Linked DNA regions of Homo sapiens: all the other regions are linked to region 2. Evidence: promoter capture Hi-C in human tissues and cell types (Jung and others, 2019). All regions are on one chromosome and are shown on one strand. Each heading gives the region's core, a stretch centred on a gene start or on the middle of the fragment in contact. The rest is flanking DNA. Distances are from core to core; before and after follow the strand shown.

Region 1 (3,133 bases), core at 268-2,767, 42 kb before region 2:
TGCCAGCACATTGCTTCCTGTACAGCCTGCAGAACTGTGAGCCAATTAAATCTCTTTTCTTTATAAATTACCCAGCCTCAGGTATTTCTTTATAGCAATGCAAGAACGACCTAATGCAATGACTAATGGGAACTTCTTTAGAAATAAAAAATAAGGCCAGGCACAGTGGCTCACACCTGTAAACCCAGCACTTGGGAGGCCGAGGCAAGCGGATCACGAGGTCAGGAGATCGAGACCCATCTTGGCTAACACGGTGAAACCCCCTCTCTACTAAAAATACAAAAAAAATTAGCCGGGCGTGGTGGCAGGTGCCTGTAATCCCAGCTACTCAGGAGGCTGAGGCAGGAGAATGGCGTGAACCTGGGAGGCAGAGCTTGCAGTGAGCCGAGATCACGCCACTGCACTTCAGCCTGGGCAACAGACAGAGCAAGACTCTGTCTCAAAAAAAAAAAAAAAAAAGAAAGAAATAAAAAATAAAAATTGTAACTCATGATATTATCAGATTAATGGAAAAAAACATACAATTTTAAGAAAAGCATTGAACAAAACAATTTTCATCTGTAATATTTAGAAAAACTCTCAGAAAACTAGGAAGAGAATGTACTTTCCTCAATCTGAAAAGGGACATCAGTAAAATACCTTAGGTAATGCCATACTTAATAATTGAATATTCAATGTTCTCCCCTTACTAGCAAAACAAGGACAGGCTGGACCATTTCTATTTAACATTTTACTGGAGACCATAATCATCCAAGAAGGCAAAAAGAAAAGATATTAATAGCATGCTGATGGAAAGGAATGAGTTAAGTAAAATCTATTTGTAAATGATGTGATTATTTCCATGGATAGTATTTATAAAATCTACAAATAATCATAGGAAAAACAAATTGAATATATAATTCCATGTTAATATGCAAAATATACAAAAATCAATTGTATATACTTGCTACAAACTATTAGAAACAGAAATTAATTAATTCTATTTACACTGGTGTTAATGAGCGCAGAAAAGTTAGGAATGAACTTAACAAAAGACTTGCAATAATGTTAAAGTAAAAAAAAATCATAGTATTGTGGAAAGAGCTTAATAAAGAATTAAAGAAATGAAGTGGTGTGCCATATTTATAGATTGAAAAATCAAGGTGCTAATTTTCTGCAAGTTGATTTCTTAAAATTTTATTTTACTTTAGATTCAGGGGGTACGTGTGCATGTTTGTTACATGAGTATAAGGAAAAGAGGCAATTTGAAGACAACATTCTATTTCATGTTTTCTGTATGTTCATATACACAGAAGTATTTATATTTTATGTGACCAAACTATCCCCGTATAGTATATACAGTCTTTAGTTGCTTTTTACTCATGTAAAATATATTATGAATATTTTTTCATATTAAGTATTTATCAACACATTGTTTTTAATGACTGGCTGGTGTTTTTCTGCAGCCAAGAGGAACCTCCAAAGTTCTGTATGTTCCAGATAAATGCCCTGTCCTCTGCTTTAGTCAGCACTGGCAGGGGTGAGGAGTATGCCTCAGGAGATCTGTATGCTCCTCATAAAACTCTCACCCCTTCCTCCTTCTCTGTCTCATCAAATGCTCACAGCCTCACTGCAACTGTCTGCCAGGAGATGCTCGGAAATAATTTTGTCCTTTATACTTTTCACATTAGCCACCACAAGTAGCTCAGGACACCTGGAGTTTCTCTAATCCCCAAAGGACTCCATGGGCAGTGAGGTAAATCACCCTGCCAACCACAGAGGCATTGCCTAATGACCTTCCCTGACTTATTTTCTTCCTACTCCTACCATCATCAGAATATGTATGTGTGTGTGTGCATATATACATGCATGTATGTATGCATATATGTGTGTCTGTCTTTAATTACTAGGATACAAGCTTTATGAGGTATATTGGATTTTTGAAGGCAGGAATTTTTGTCTTTTCTTGTTAGGTTATAATCTCCAGTGCCTAAAATAGTGAATAGCACATGGTAGGCACACACTAAATATTTATTGAATTGATGGATGATTTCATGATAATAAAAAATACTGCCATAAACATCCTCATAGCAAATCATTGTACTCATTCAGAATGATTTACTTTTGATAAACTTTTAGATGTGGAATTTGCTGGATTGGAAATAAAAAATAGGCACCCCTTTTCCTTTTTTAAAAAAAGACATTTAGGCTATGAATGAGCAAACTGCAACATGTAGCATAACAGAGGCCTATTTCTTCATAATCTCAGTGATACTATTTAATAAATATTAGCACTTGAAAACATCATCACCCATTCTGGGAAAGACAAAACTCAAGAGAGAGTAAAATGAGCAGTTGATGCTAGGGATTTAGAGAGAGGGTATAGGGATGAGTAGGTGGAGCAAATGGATTTTTAAGAAAGTAATGAAATTCTGTATCATACTGTAATTGTGAATGCAAGACATTAAGTATTTATCAAAACCCATAGAACTTTCAAGCACAAAGAGTGAAGCTTAATGAATGCAATTTAAAAAAATTATTTAAGGAGCTGGGATCCCAGGAGGGAAAGCAGACTATGACAAAGAATCTAACTGTATGACAAATGCCTGAAGCAACCACATTGAAGGGAGTGTGACGGGAGGTGCTGGCATAACTTTGGAAATAAATGGAGTCTGCAAGACAAAAGGCAGAAGGAACTGTACATAAGGACTGTACTCTAGTTGATAAAGTTGTTTCCCACAGGAATACAGGTTAACAATTCTGACACTGCTATACATGTATACTAGAGTTGAAGAATTAAGTAAATGGATATAAGTTGGTGAAAGTCATGTTTCTCACTGTTGGAGTGGGAGTTTACAGATAAGCCAGGGCAGGAAGCTAGATGATCCATATGGCGATGAATCAGAGCTGGGGACATCAGTATGAACTCAATGTTTAGCTTAATATGGATACAGATGGTTACATACAGAAATATTTATAGATATGTGTATTTACACAGGTTAGTGAGTGTATTCACAGATCATAAGAAAATATGTCAGCTGAGAGGGCCTAGAAGCAAAGACACCCCTGTAGCAAGAAGAACACCTAATGCCCAGATCTTGGTTACTAATACCATTCTCTAATAAAAGGAACCAGAGGTACTTGGAGAAATAGC
Region 2 (2,924 bases), core at 425-2,924:
AGAGTGTGCTCAATGGTTAGGACTAGAAAAAACAGACTTCATCCCTTCTTAGCAAAATTGATTGTGTGTGTGTTTTAGATGAAAATCCTAACTTTACTGCTTATTTTTTTATGGCTAATTATAATCTGCTAGTTTTGAAGGCCAGCAAGAGGGCTAAACAATGCTTGTGCAGAGCCCTGGCAACCTCAAGACAGGTAGGGATAAAGAGGAAGAACCGAAGAGGAGGGAGGGAGATGATTGACAGGAAGTGTACGGAACAAATGTGGAGGGCTTAACATGTGCTGCTGGGAACACCCACCCACTTTAATCAGTTTCATTCTCTTGTCAACATTAGAAGAAATCTTTAGTCCTATTTTACCGATTGGGCAACCAAGGCCAGAGAGGCTAAGTCATTTACTTTAGGACATACAGCTGGTAATTATGGAGTTAGGATTGCAAGATGCAGCAAAATAAAATAAAGGACATCCAATTATATTTGGGTTCTGAGTAAACAATGTAAAAAAAATAGTGAAAGTATATCCCATGTAAAATTTCAGACTTATACTAAAAATTTAACTGGGCATCCTGTATTTTACCTGGCAACTGTTGAGGAGATTCAAATTCAGTTCTCTTTGTTATTTCCCAGACACCCCTTACTATGGGACATATATAATACTGTAGAATATGTGATCAGTACCAGCAGATACTGGTTGAGTTCAGGCCTCAAGCTTTATATCTGCCATTTTGCTTGAAACCCTTTAATCCTTATATCACCTATCCAGTAGGTATTATCATTGTTCCCATTTTATGGATGAGGAAACTGAGGCTCCTTAAGATGAAATAACTTGGTCACGGTGACACAACCAGAAAGTACTAGAGCCCATGCTTGAACCCAGTTCTGTTTTGCTCAAGAATGGTCTCTCAAAAAAAAAAAAAAAAAAGAAACACAAAAAAACAAAAAACAGTTAAGATTTAACCCATGTACAGAAAAGCACTTGATATGTAAATGTACAGTACAACGACTTGTCACAAACACCTGTGCAGCCACCAGCCAGATCAAGAAAGAAAAGATGTCCAGCTCCCGTTAGATGCCCTGCCCCGTCATGAGAAGGGCTCTTCTGCCAGAGCTTCTCTGGGAATTCTTTGACTACGGGCATTACTGTCCCCATTTTACAGATGGGGACACAAAGGTTCAGAGAGGTGCTGTGACTTGCCCAAGGTCACAGAGATTGGAAAGCAACAGGCTCAGAGAGGGCGAGTGATCACCCAGAGGTTACACAGCTAAAACTTACCACCTGTTAAAACTACAAACTAAATACCAAAAACCGAAACTGCGCTTTATTGGGTGTTTACTATTTGTGAGGCACCGTGCTAAGCTTCTTGGTCGACAACAGTAGCAGCAGCAGCAAGCACTCTGCCATTTGGGGTGCATACTCCCCATGTCAGGCAGCTTGGCACTTTGCGTAATCCGCTCAGTGAATTTTTCCAGCGACCCTATGGTTTGGGCTTGGGTCTCGAACCCATTTTACAGAAGAGGACACTGAGGCCGGAAGGCTGAGGCCCCTGCCCGATATGCTCAGCCGGCCTGGCACCGGCTATGCCCGGCTCCCCGGGAGGCTGCGGGAGGGCCAGGTGGCATGCAAGGAGTTAAGCGGTAGGCAGTGCTGTGGCTCCGTGCGAGGAGCGCGCCGGGCTGAGGCGCGCTGCTGGTGGCGGCGGCGGCAGCGGCGCGGGAGCTAGGGCTGGAGACGTGAAGTCCAGGGGAGCGAGCAAGGCAGCCAAGGAGGCAGCGGCGAGGCAGCGAGAGAGAGCCAGGCGGCCGGAGCTCCGCGCCGAGCCGCAGCCGGTGCCCTGCGCGCACCGGGCCCGGGCATCTCCATCCCCGGGGCGGGTGCCCGCGCGGGGCCTCGCCGCGGCTCGGGGCACCCGCAGTGCCGCCCGCCCGAGCGCCAGGCTCACAGGAGCCCGGCTTTCACTTCCTCTCGCTTCCGCCCGCCTCCCTGGCTCGCCGGCTGGCGTCGCCACCGCCTCCTCGTCCCCGGCCACCGCTGTCGCCGCTGCTGCAATTCAAGGCGCACACTATCCCACTTTCCCGCTGGAGGCGCAGAGGATGCCCCTTGAGCCAGACCTGGAGAAATAGCCCCAGGGCCCGGCAGGAGGAGCCTTGGTGGCGAGAAAGGAAATCCAGGCTCCCCTTTCCTTAAAGCCACTGCAGCAGCTGGGAAGGCGCCCACAGAGCGGGCGCGCCAAGCGGGACGCGGGAGTCGCAGAGAGGGACCCCGGGCGCCTGCTGAGCTCAGCTGGCAGAGTTTGCAAGTGGCGGAGACCCTTCAGGTAAGGACTCAGGTGCCTGGACCTGGGAAGAGGGCTCCAGGAGGGAGCCGGGCGCGGAGCTGGTGCGAAATGTCTTCTGCCCCTAGATCTGGGCTTCGCTTTCCAGACGCTTCCCCGCAGGTTGGGGGCTCGTCGTCCAGAGCCCGGCGAGTGAGGAACCCAGAGTGGTGACAGCCCAGCTCTGCGTAGATGACAAACTTTCTCTCCTCTGGCAGAGGGTGGGACATTCCGGCTCATCCAGGCATCCTTCCTCTGGGCATTCCTGTGCCCCCTACAGGCATGCATTCAAGGGCTTCTCCCGCGGAGGTGGGCCAGCGGGGAGGCAGTGGGCCCCGTAAATTTGATTTATGAATCACCCTCTTTCTGGCCAGTGCAGAGTTCCAAGGGAGAGGGAGCTAGTCATATTTCCAAGTTGGCTGTAGAAGATGTTTCTTGGGGGTGATACTCTGGTGAATAAGGCTGCCTGTCATCTGATGCCAACAGCCAGAGCTGCCCAGGCAATGGGCTTTGTGTAGGGTGCCTTGCAGATTTGCTTATGTCCATTCTGGGGTGTGTGTGTGTGTGTGTGTGTGTGTGTGTGTGTGTGTGTGTGTGTAAAGAGAGAGAGGGAA
Region 3 (2,992 bases), core at 452-2,951, 34 kb after region 2:
GAGACCCCTCACATGCAGATTTTACCGTGGCTTCACTGTGCACTGTCATCTCAAGCCCTCACCATGGCCCATGCATCACCATCCTCCCCACTTTACAGATGGGGACACTGAGGCTCACAGAGGGAAGAAGTCGCTTGCCCAACATTGCACAGAAGCCAAGTGGCAGAGATGGGGTAAAATGGTAGCCAGTCCATGCTAAGGCCTGCCCTTGGCCACAGAATACTGGTGAGGGTGGAAAGGAAGGACGGCAGAGGGACTGTGACCTCAGATTCTCTTCCAAGCCTGAAGACAACGTTGGCCACGTTGTTCTCATTTCCTCCTTTGGGCTTCTTCAGCATCTTCCTTGCAGGCTCACATCTCTCCGGAAGCTCTTGGAATCCTGCCTGTTCATAGGGAGGAGTCACCAAGCCCCCTTCAGACTCACGGGTGGAATAATCAAACACATATGCCTTGGAAAATGGGCTGGGGGATCCCCAGCCCCCCAACCCATTTCACACTCAGATGCAAGCAACACCCTCAGTCCCCAGGGCTCCCAGAGCTTTCTCATTCCATTTGTATCAATGTGCCCCACACATGTATGAGCCAAGTTCTACTTCTGGGGGAAAGAAAAAAATCTATTTCTTTCTGCATCTTGGCATCTATTTTTCCCAAAGTGCCAAGGAAATTCCATCTCTGATAAATGACAGGCAGCCACCAGAAAAGCTTGGATGTTTATTCCCTCCTGGGGAGAGGAACAGGGCTCAGACCCTCTTCTGAGCATCCTGGAGAATGCATTTCCTCCATTTTCTGGAGGGGCTGGGAGTAAGGCCTTCTCTTTTCTCTCTCCAAATGACCTCTGCTCAGACCTGGAGGCCCTTCCAGAACAGTTTCTGATGGATTCTGGAGTCTGACAGACCTGGTTAGCAAAGTACCCTGGACTTGGTAAATGGCTGTTTCCATCAATATCATTCATTCATAAGATATCACTACATGCACAGGCTGTGTGTTGAGCCTGCATCTTGTGCCAGCCTCTGTGTTAACTGCCTTAAACATCACTTCACTTACTCCTCACAAAAACCTGGAGGAAGTGGAGTGATGCCTCATTGTATAGGCAGGAAAACTGGGGCTTCAAGAGAGGCTGAATCGTATTCCTATGGACATGAAGCTAATAAGTGGTAGGTCATCAGCTAAGTGATACCACTAATAAGTAGTATTTGAATCCAGATGGGTCTGATCTGATTCCAAGTCTGAGCTCGTAAAAAGTCTATACCATCCTCCTGGCTAGCATGGTGAAATCCCGTCTCTACTAAAAATACAAAAAATTAGCTGGGCGTGGTGGCGGGCACCTGTAGTCCCAGCTTCTTGGGAGGCTGAGGCTGGAGAATGGCATGAACCTGGGAGGCGGAGCTTGCAGTGAGCAGAGATTGCACCACTGCACTCCAGCCTGGGTGACAGAGCAAGACTTTGTCTCAAAAAAAATAAAAATTAAAATTAAAAAAGAAAGAAAAAGTCTATACCATTCTTCTTTCTAAGTGTGGTGGGTTGAATAATCATCCTCTGCCCCACCAAACCTGTCCACGTTCAAATCCCTGGAACCTGCAAATATGGTACCTTAAGCATGGTAAGAGGTACTTGGCAGACGTAAATGAGTTAAGAATCTTGAGATGGGATATTATCCTGGATTCTCCAAGTGGTCCCACTGTCATCGCAAGGATCTTCATAAGAGGGAGGCAGGGAAGATCCGAGTCAGTAGCAGGAGATGCGATGATAGAAGACGTTGGAGTGATGGAATGCAGGCAGGAAGGGGAGGGGCCAGGAGCCAAGGCATGCAGGCAGCTTCTAGAAGCTGAAAAAGCAAGGAAGCAGATTCTCCCTGAAGCCTCCAGCAGGAACCAGCCCTGCAGACATCTTGATTTTACACTTCTGATTTTCAGAACTGAATAGAATGAACTTATGTTTTTTTAAGCTAGTAAGTTTGTGGTCATATGTTACTGCAGCCACAGGAAACTAATATACTAAGCATGGATAAAAAAAATTAAGGAAAGATACTAAAAGAATAAGTGAATGCCTGGAAAGGTAGTGAATAAATGAGTGAAACATAGTGGCATCAGTGATGGCTTGCCTTTGACATCCCAGTGGGTCACTGTCTTCTCTACAGCCCAGGACCCATGACAGAGTGGTTGGCATTACCACTAGACCTGTAGCCCTTCACTTATTTATACTGTTGTTTAATCTTAAATCCTTTTTTTTTTTTTTTTTTTTTTTCAGAGAGGGGGATGTTTGAAAACGTCCTACAATGGTATACCTTACATACTGTAAAGTACAAAATCAATAAATTTTTACAAACTTATAGAGCCATGGAACCATTGCCAAGGTCAAGATACAGACCATTCTTATCACTCCAGAGAGGTTTCTTTGCATTTCTTCCTAATTGATACCCCTGTCACCAGAGATTAATTTGCCTGTCCTTGAACTTCATATGAATGGGATCTTGTACTGTCTTTTCTTTTGTGCCTGGCTTCCTTTGCTTGATGTTATTTTTATAAATCCGTGAGATTTATTCACGATGTCACATATATCAGCGGTTTCTTTCTTGTTCATTCAATTTTTAATCCTTTCTCCTTTTGAAGGACACATGGCTGATTTTCTGCAGTTTGGGACCCTAATGAACAGAGGTGCTAGGGACATTCTTGTACAAATCTTGTGGGAGATTTAAGCACTCATTTCTTGTAGGTGTATACCCAGGAGTGGAATTGCAGGGTCCTAGGTATGTGAATGTTTCGCTTCAGTGGACAACACCAGTCTCCAGCCTGAATCTAACTTGAGGAATGCCTTCCTTGCCCGCAACAGCTTTCTCTCCAACAGATCTACCCACATCTCCACATTGTGTGGGTCACAATGCTTAGGAGACAAGGAGGCCCAATAACTCCTCACATCCCAGTCCAGGAAAGCCTCATCTGACCTGATGGGTTTCAGAGATGTGATGTAGGAGAAGGTGGGGACAAAGGGGGTA

Evidence for each region. The method cuts DNA at HindIII sites, captures the fragments that hold promoters and counts their contacts. A contact is called where the count stands out against the background at its distance.
Region 1: a contact is called between a fragment that was not itself captured here and the fragment with the promoter of WSCD2 in region 2, in 2 of the 25 tissues and cell types used here (pancreas and thymus).
Region 3: a contact is called between a fragment that was not itself captured here and the fragment with the promoter of WSCD2 in region 2, in 3 of the 25 tissues and cell types used here (dorsolateral prefrontal cortex, psoas muscle and spleen).

The regions. Positions count from the first base shown.
Region 1 is chr12:108,085,442-108,088,574 of GRCh38, forward strand. No RefSeq gene overlaps it. Among named protein-coding and RNA genes, the nearest start is that of WSCD2, 42 kb to the right of the region's middle. The HindIII fragment of the contact is 3,832 bases long and covers 1-3,133 here.
Region 2 is chr12:108,127,614-108,130,537 of GRCh38, forward strand. WSCD2 (WSC domain containing 2) reads left to right here and starts at 1,675. Exons shown (of 9, transcript NM_014653.4): 1 at 1,675-2,313. RefSeq lists a silencer at 1,896-1,985. The HindIII fragment of the contact is 5,452 bases long and covers 1,032-2,924 here.
Region 3 is chr12:108,161,919-108,164,910 of GRCh38, forward strand. The region is part of intron 1 of WSCD2 (WSC domain containing 2); the gene reads left to right. Among named protein-coding and RNA genes, the nearest start is that of WSCD2, 34 kb to the left of the region's middle. The HindIII fragment of the contact is 8,834 bases long and covers 1-2,992 here.